Regions from separate parts of the Homo sapiens genome. Here region 1 is linked to region 2. Evidence: promoter capture Hi-C in human tissues and cell types (Jung and others, 2019). All regions are on one chromosome and are shown on one strand. Each heading gives the region's core, a stretch centred on a gene start or on the middle of the fragment in contact. The rest is flanking DNA. Distances are from core to core; before and after follow the strand shown.

Region 1 (4,464 bases), core at 1,364-3,863, 33 kb before region 2:
GCTTATGGGTGTTTGCTCTAGCTGCCTGGTCTCTCCCTGCTCCTGGTGCCTGCTCCAGTCTTGCAGCAGGGTTGGAGCGGGGTTTAGGCCAAGCCTGGGCACTGTCACAGCCTGGCTGGGAGTGTGCATACTCAGGGCAGTACTGACACGACAGCGCCCTGCCGCCTCAGCCCCCTCCAGACTTTGGGCACCCATGAGCACAGGAGGGAAAGACAAGGGGGTGCTGAGGATGGCTCTGCACTGGCCTGCAGTTGCCCCTTGGTGTGAGCAGCCTGGGTGCCATGGACTGGGCAGCAGGAGGGAGACAGGTTCCTGGGCAGAAGCAGGCAGGTCCCCGGTGAGGCCCCGCCTTCAGGTCGGAGAGGGCCTGAAGGCTGGGGACCGGGTTGCCTGTCCCGTGGGACTGCAGTAGGAACTTATGGTGCCTTTTCCAGGCCCACCCATGGCCACCCATGGACCAATCGGTGCGCACTTCCTCCCTTCTGAGGCCCATAAAAGCCCTGGGCTTAGTTGGAGCAGAGCAGATGAGATGACCAGCTGCAGAGAGGAGTTCCCCTCTCTGCTGATAGCTGGAGATGTCAGAGGACCAGCAGCAGAGAGGAGCAACCCACTCCAGGGCCTCCTCTCTACTAGGAGCTGGTCAGAATAACCAGCTGCAGAGAAGAACAACCCTCTCCAGGGCTTCCTCTTTGCTGAGAGCTGCAGAGACAGTTGGGTGACCTGCCTTCAGAGAGGAGCCATCGACTCCAGGGGACCTCCTCTCTGCTGAGAGCTGAACACTTAACGGGACGACCTGCCTACAGAGAGGAGCTACCCACTGTGGGTCTCCTCTGAACTGTTCTAACATGCAGTAAAGCTCCTCTTCGTCTTGCTCACCCTCCACTTGTCTGCTTACCTCATTCTTCCTGGACGCAGGACAAGAACTCAGGCAAAGGCACACTGGCACCACAGACATTTCCGACCAGAAAAGCGACACCCCAAAGATCTTGTAACAATGTGGGACCTAACAGCAAAAATTATAACCTCCATTTTGGAAGCCACTGAAGCTCCCCAAACTGTTCAGGGGGCATAACCCATAAAGCATCTCTAGACCTCTCCCTCTGCCTTCAGCCTCAGAGCAGAGCCCATAACTGCACCTGCCTTCCCAGTACGGATCCCAGTACATCATGGGTCCACTCCTCCCACTGGGATCCCAGCACATCCCACAGGTCCTCCTTCCACCCCCAGGATCCCATTACATCCCACAGGTCCACCTCCCTTCCCCCAGGATCCCAGCATATCCCACAGGTCCACGTCCCCCCAGGTCCAACCCCCACCCTCCCAGGACCCAAGCACATCCTGTATGGACATACGTCCACTACCTAGTGTTTGGACCCTCTCTTTTGAGGCAAGGGTGAAAGTTCAACAACTAATACAAGAAAAAGAAAATGTAATCTTTATTTTCAGATAAAATTAATCTGGATATTCTCCAAAACAAGCTTTTCAATCATAATATAATTCAAAAGGCAAATACCTGGGGAGGGTGGAGGTTTCTCACATAATGGAGGTTTTTCATCCTAGGAAAGAAAGAACATAAGAGGAATAAGTGCAGAGCATTAGTGTTTTATAAAGTGGACACACGCAGCTAGGTCATTAGACAGCAGGTATATAAGCATGCTTTATTTCCTTCATTTTGACTCTTGTTCTTTGTTTGTTTTAGCTTTCAAAACTTTAATATGTACTATTTCTTTTTTTCCTTTTTTAAGACAGGGTCTTACTCTGTCACCCAGGCTAGGGTGCAGTGGTGTGATCGCAGCTCACTGCAGCCTCCAACTCCTGGGCTCATGAAATCCTCCTACCTCAGCCTCCCAAGTAGCTGGGATTACACATGGGCCATCACACCTAATTTTTTTTTTTTTTTTTTTGTAGAGATGGGGTCTCCTGTTGTCCAGGCTAGCCTTGAGCTCCTGGGCTCAAGGGATCCTCCTACCTTGGTCTCCCAACATGCTGGGATTACACTGTTTCTTATACCTGAATCTGAGACCTTAAGTGTCTTCCCCTCTGGTGGGCTCTCTGAGGCTATAAAGGAAGTCCTGCCTGAGCTTTCTTCCTGCCTTTCTGCACTGAGTTCAGTGACTGTCCTTACAGGTAGATCCCGTGAGTAGCGGGCTGTGGGCTCACGTTGAAAAGCATGTGCTAGGTAGGGCTGCAAGTGCTGAGCAGAGATGCCCTCAGCAAACTCCAGCCAGGCCTCTTCTCACTGGGATGGGCAAAAAGGACCCCATCAACTGCAGGGAAGCACATTTGCAAAATGCTGAGAAAGGAACAGTAAGATATTGCTTCTCAACCCCAAACCTAGAGGAAAGGGAAGGCTGTGAACTTTTGTTAATTTTTCCTTACATGGTGGTGTGATATTAAGTTTCTAATTTCTGCTGACAAAGTAGACAAGGTTATAAATTAACTCTGCAGAGAAATGTTTAATTTTTAAGTTCCTATGACATCGCACAATGAAAAACTTAAGTTAGAACTATTTCCATGTTTGCAAATTAGTTATTAAAATTCTCAGGCCAGGCCAGGTGTGGTGGCTCACACCCGTAATCCCAGCACTTTAGGAGCCCGAGGCAGGTGGGATCGCCTGAGGTCAGGAGTCTGAGACCAGACTGGCCAACATGGTGAAATCTCATCTCCATTAAAAATACAAAAATTAGCTGGGCATGGTGGCATGCACCTGTGGTCCTAGCTACTCGGGAGGATGAGGCAGGAGAATCACTTGAATCCAGGAGGCGGAGGTTGCAGTGAGCCGAGACTGCGCCACTGCACTCCAGTCTGGGTGACAGAGCAAGACTCCATCTCAGAAAAATATCTCAGGCTAGGCACGTCACATCATGCCTGCAATCCCAATGCCCTTGGGAGGCCAAGGCAGGAGGATCGCTTGAGCCCAGGAGCTTGAGACCATCCTGGGCAACATAACAAGACCCCATCTCTAAAAAAAAATTTTTTTTTAATTAGCCAGGAGTGGTGGCATGTGCCTGTAGTCCCAGCTACTCAGGAGACTGAGGCAAAAGAATCACTTGATCCCAGGAGATTGAGGCTACAGTGAGCTATGATCACACCACTGCACTCCAGCCCGGGTCACAGAGGGAGATCCTGTCTCAAAAAATAATTTTAACAAAAGATAAAATTGTCTATTCATTCCACATTCATTTTAATTATAAAGTAGTTTCTAACCCTTTAATACATTACTTTCATCATTAAACTATGGAAAATATCAATTTCCTCATGTTTTAAAAGTATTTAAGGCCAGGCACAGTGGCTCATGCCTGTAATCCCAGCATTTTGGGAGGTCGAGATGGGCAGATCACTTGAGCTCAGGAGTTTGAGACCAGCCTGGGTAATATGGTGAAACCCCATCTTTATCAAAAATACAACAAATTAGCTGGGTGTGGTGGCATGCATCTGCGATCCCAGCTACTCGGGAGGCTGAGGTGGGAGGATCGCTTGAGCCTGGAAGACGGAGACCGCAGTGAGCTGAGATTGCGCCACTGCACTCCAGTCTGGGTGACAGTGAGACCCCCTTCTCAAAAAAAAAAAAAAGCATTTAAAAGAAATATTCAACAGGAAAGAACTCTTAAGGGAAGATTTATTTTTGCCCCAAAATCACCGCCAAAGTTTCAACACCAAAGTTGTTGAAAATTTATGAAAAATTATGATAAAAACTCTATTTATTGAGAAAATCAGTTTTTAAAAAAAATGATCTTACCTTTAAATTCAGAACAGGGTGTTTACCATCTGATGAAGAAAAAGAGAGAGAGATAAACTTTTAAAGTAGATAATGAAATATGACAACTCAGAAAGTACAATCATAGAAATTCACCTTCTACAGAGGAGCTCGACAAGGCCCAGAACAGGGATAAAATTCACAGGGTCACAGGGCAAGTGGGTCCCAGAGCCAGGCTGGGGCCTGACTCTAAATTGTCATCTCTCTCCCATACCCATGCCTGACCACCATCCGTGGCTCACGTGGCTGCAGAACCAAAGCCAAACTCTTCAGTGTCTCCAAGCCCTTCCCATGCCAGGCTTCTCCTCTCCTTCCAACACCCCTCCCCATCACTCTCCACACATCTTCCCATGCCGGGCTCCTCCTCTCCTTCCAACACTCCTCCCCATCACGCTCTATACATCTTCCCATGCCGGGCTCCTCCTCTCCTTCCAACACCCCTCCCCATCACTCTCCACACATCTTCCCATGCCGGGCTCCTCCTCTCCTTCCAACACTCCTCCCCATCACGCTCTACACATCTTCCCATGCCGGGCTCCTCCTCTCCTTCCAACACTCCTCCCCATCACGCTCCACACATCTTCCCATGCCGGGCTCCTCCTCTCCTTCCAATACTCCTCCCCATCACGCTCCACACATCTTGCCCACCACTCCCTGGATGGGCCAACGCATACTCCTATTGGCCTACCCTCCCTAGATGCATCATC
Region 2 (4,194 bases), core at 237-2,736:
CCCAGACCCCATCTCTACCAAAAAAAAAAAATTATGTTTTTTTGAGGCAGAGTCTAGCTTTGTCGCCCAGGCTGGAGTGCAGTGGCACAATCTTGGCTCACTGCAACCTCTGCCTCTCGGGTTTAAGCGATTATCCCACCTCAACCTCCCGTGTAGCTGGGATTACAGGTGCCCACCACCACGCCCGCTAATTTTTGTATTTTTAGTAGAGATGGGTTTTCACCATGTTGGCCAGGCTAATCTTGAACTCCTGACCTCAAATGATCCGCCTGCCTCAGCCTCCCAAAGTGCTGGATTACAGGTGAGAGCCACCTCACGTGGCCTCTACAAAATAATTTTTAAAATTAGCCAGGCATTGAGACTTGGCAGAGTGTGAGGCAAAAAATAAAATAAATAAAAAATACCTAGGTGTGGTGGTGCACACCTGTAGTCCCAGCTACTCAGGAGCCTGAGGCAGGAGGATCACTTGAACCCAAGAGGTTGAAGCCACAGTGAGCTATGATCATGCCACTGTACTCCAGCCTGGGCATCAGGACAAGACCCTGTCTCTAAAACTAAATTAAATAATAAATAAATATAAGAATCCCCTTGGCTGCTACGTGGAGAATGGACCTAGGGGAAGGGCGAGAGTGGAAGCAGAGAAACCAGTGAGGATCTGCCGCAGCAGTCCAGACAGATGCTGGAGGCCGGGGTGTGGGTGGAGATGGGAACAGCTGGCAGATGTATGTAGTGGGTATATCGGATGGGACTTGCTGATGGGGTGTACATGGTGGGTGGAGGAGGGAAAAATGAAGAATGGCTATATCCAGCAGTGCAGCAGGTGTACGTCGTCCAGGAGTTAACTCCGGGCACGGGGACGAATGCTACAGGGGAGGCAGGGTGCTCCTGTCCAACTGTGGCCGACCCTGGGGCAGAAGATTGTTAACGCCGGGCACAGTGGCTCACGCCTGTGATACCAACACTTTAGGAGGCTAAGGAGCTCAAGACCACCATAGGAACATAGCAAGATCCCTGTTTCCACAAAAATATTGAACAATTAGCCGGGAGTAGTGGCGCGCGCCTGTAGTCTCAGCTCCTCGGGAGGCTGGGGTGGGAAGATCGCTTGAGCCCAGGAGTTCGAGGATGCAGTGAGCTATGATCGCACCACTGCACTCTAGCCTGGGCGACAGAGCGAGACCCTGTTTCTTAAAAAAAAAAAAAAAAGTTTAGAACACGAAAAATCAAGGCTTCCTCAACTGAAAACCACTTTCTCTTGTGCCGCCCCCTTGACTGGATCTCAGGCCAAACCCCAACCCGCCCCAACACTTTACCCCTAATTCCCGGCCCCACAGAGCCCCACGCGCGGCGGGCGAGCATCTACTTACGAAATGACTCCTGCGGCCTCTCCGAAATCCCAGGAGCATCCTTGCAGCGCGAGGAGAATGGACCGGGGCCTGGACTCATCAGCAGATCTATCCACAGCCAGGGACCACTCCCTAAAGCCCGCCGCAGGCCCAGCCCTCACGCTTTCTCTTCGCAATGGACTTTGCAGCAACCACGTCGGCCATTGGCTCAGCTCGGCCCTCGACCAATCAGAGCTAAGGTTACTTCCACACCGGTCGTTCTTGGCAACCAGTGGGTACCGTTCAAATCCCCGCCAGGGCGGAAACGTCCGCCCTTATCCGTTCTCTTATTGGTCAGGTTAGACGTCCATTTCTGACGCCACAGCCTATCCGGCGCTGCGGGAGGCGGAGGGCGGGCTGGATGAAGGACTGGGCGAGCACCGAGGGCGTGAACCCGGAAGGTGGCGCGGCCACCAGTAACATGATCTCTAGACTGGGACGGTGGGGTTCCTGCCGGCTGTATTCGGGCCTTGGACTGGACTGAGAAGCTACGGTGCGGATCCAGCTGGGGTATCAGGGGCTAGGCACGTGATGAAAATGAAGGACGCGGACACCAGGACAGGAATCTCCTGGTTCTTAGAGAATTTATTTCGCCACAAATAATTGGCAAACGGGATCTCGCTGTATTGCTCAGGCTGGTCTCGAACTCCTGGGCACAAGCGATCCTCACGCCTCAGCCTTGCCCAATGTTGGGATTACAGACGTGAGCTACCATGCCCAGCCCAGGATTCTTTTAAAACTTAAATCTGATCGTGCCTCTGGCCTTATTGGAATCCAATGCCATTACCACCTCCACCACCACACATCCCGTCTCCAGCCACCCTGGCCTTCATTCAGGCCTTTGTGTTTTCTTTTTCTTTTCTTTTTTTTTTTTTTTTTTGAGACGAGTCTTGCTCTGTCGCCCAGGCTGGAGTGCAGTGGCGCGATCTCGGCTCACTGCAACCTCCGCCTTCCGGATTCAAGCAATTCTCTGCCTCAGCCTCCCAAGTGGCTGGGATTACAGGTGCCCACCACCAAGCCCGGCTAATTTTTTTGTATTTTTAGTAGAGACGCGGTTTCACTATCTTGGCCAGGCTGGTCTTGAACTCCTGACCTTGTGATCCACCCGCCTCGCTCGGCCTCCCAAAGTGCTGGGATTACAGGTGTGAGCCACCGCGCCCAGCCTGTGTTTTCTTATTAGTAATTATAAAGGGAATCTTATTTGACAGTTCTTTGACAAATAATTCAGTTTGCAGAGGGGATCCTGCCCCAGAGGCCCTGGCTTGGAGTGGAATGCAGGGCCGTGTGCAGGAGAGCCTGCTCAAGTGCCGCCTGGCTTTTCCCTCCTTAGGTGGAGACCATCCATGGAAAAGAACCCCCCTGATGATACGGGCCCCGTGCACGTGCCTTTGGGGCATATTGTGGCCAATGAGAAATGGCGCGGGTCACAGCTGGCGCAGGAGATGCAAGGTCGGTGGCCTGCCCTCTGCCAGCCCTTTCCTCCCCTGACATATTAAAAAAAAAAAATCTGCCTATTATTGCCATCTTTTCATCCAAAGCTTATGGAACTCATTTTCTTCTCTGTATTTTAAGGGAAAATTAAGCTCATTTTCGAGGATGGCTTGACACCAGACTTTTATCTGTCGAACAGATGCTGCATTCTTTATGTCACCGAAGCTGATTTGGTGGCAGGAAATGGCTACAGAAAGAGGCTTGTTCGGGTTAGAAATGTAAGTATTAGGCTGGGTGCTGTGGCTCACGCCAGTAATCCCAGCACTTTGGGAGGCCAAGGCGGGTGGATCACCTGAGGTCAGTAGTTGGAGACCAGCCTGGCCAACATGGTGAAACCCTGTCTCTGCTAAAAATACAAAAATTAGCTGAGTATGGTGGCGCACGCCTGTAATCCCAGCTACTAGGGAGGCTGAGACGGGAGAATTGCTTGAGCCTGGGAGGCAGAGGCTGTAGTGAGCCGAGATCACGCCACTGCACTCCAGCCTGGGCGACAGAGTGAGATTCCAACTCAAAAAACAAAAAACAAAAACAAAAAAGAAATGTAAGCATTGGATTAAAGAAACTCGAACATTGATTTGTCTCACCCCACCCTTCCCTCCATCCCTTGGTATCATTTATTTAAAATCATTGGCCAGGTCAGGCACGAAGTGATAGCATTCTTAACCTGAAAAGCAATTTGGTTGCAAAATGACTTACTGTCTTTTTTCCTTTCAAGTCCAATAATCTTAAAGGAATTGTAGTCGTTGAAAAAACCCGGATGAGTGAACAATACTTCCCAGCCCTACAGAAGTTTACTGTGCTGGACCTTGGAATGGTGCTGCTTCCAGTGGCCAGCCAGATGGAAGCATCCTGCCTCGTCATCCAGTTGGTGAGTACCGATTCCTACACCTTCGTGGTAGTCCTGTCCTCATGGACACTCAGCTGCTCTCCAGAAGCAACCATCAATCCAATCTATGTCATTCTCTGACTTGGTTTATAAAATCTCTTCGAGGAATTTAAATGCGGAAGCTGCCTCTGCAGCCAGCTCAGCTTGTCACACACTCCAGGCAAGTGTATCACAAAGTATACAAGTTGGAGACCTGATTTTAGATTCTCAGGGTGTGATGGCTCCATCAGTCATTATCCTGCCCTTTCGCTGGTGAAAACGTCAACCTAGAGGCCAGGCGTGATGGCTCATGCTTGTAATCCCAGCACTTTGGGAGGCGGAGGCGGGAGGATCACTTGAGGCCAGCAGTTCGAGACCAGCCTGGCCAACATGGCAAAACCCTGTCTCTACTAAAAATACAAAAATTAGCTGGGCGTGGTGGTGGGTGCATGTAAT

Evidence for each region. Contacts are between HindIII fragments. The study calls those that stand out against the background at their distance.
Region 1: a contact is called between a fragment that was not itself captured here and the fragment with the promoter of CEP89 in region 2, in 1 of the 25 tissues and cell types used here (thymus).

What each region holds. Positions count from the first base shown.
Region 1 is chr19:32,936,118-32,940,581 of GRCh38, forward strand. CEP89 (centrosomal protein 89) reads right to left here. Exons shown (of 19, transcript NM_032816.5): 6 at 3,740-3,768; 7 at 1,514-1,556. Among named protein-coding and RNA genes, the nearest start is that of CEP89, 34 kb to the right of the region's middle. RefSeq lists enhancers at 1-3, 4-503. The HindIII fragment of the contact is 4,977 bases long and covers 126-4,464 here.
Region 2 is chr19:32,970,472-32,974,665 of GRCh38, forward strand. CEP89 (centrosomal protein 89) reads right to left here and starts at 1,487. Exons shown (of 19, transcript NM_032816.5): 1 at 1,365-1,487. The coding sequence starts at 1,403. It overlaps FAAP24 (FA core complex associated protein 24), which reads left to right and starts at 1,771. Exons shown (of 5, transcript NM_152266.5): 1 at 1,771-1,875; 2 at 2,713-2,831; 3 at 2,955-3,091; 4 at 3,589-3,741. The coding sequence starts at 2,726. RefSeq lists enhancers at 1,295-1,514, 1,895-1,944 and a silencer at 1,625-1,754. The HindIII fragment of the contact is 5,065 bases long and covers 1-4,194 here.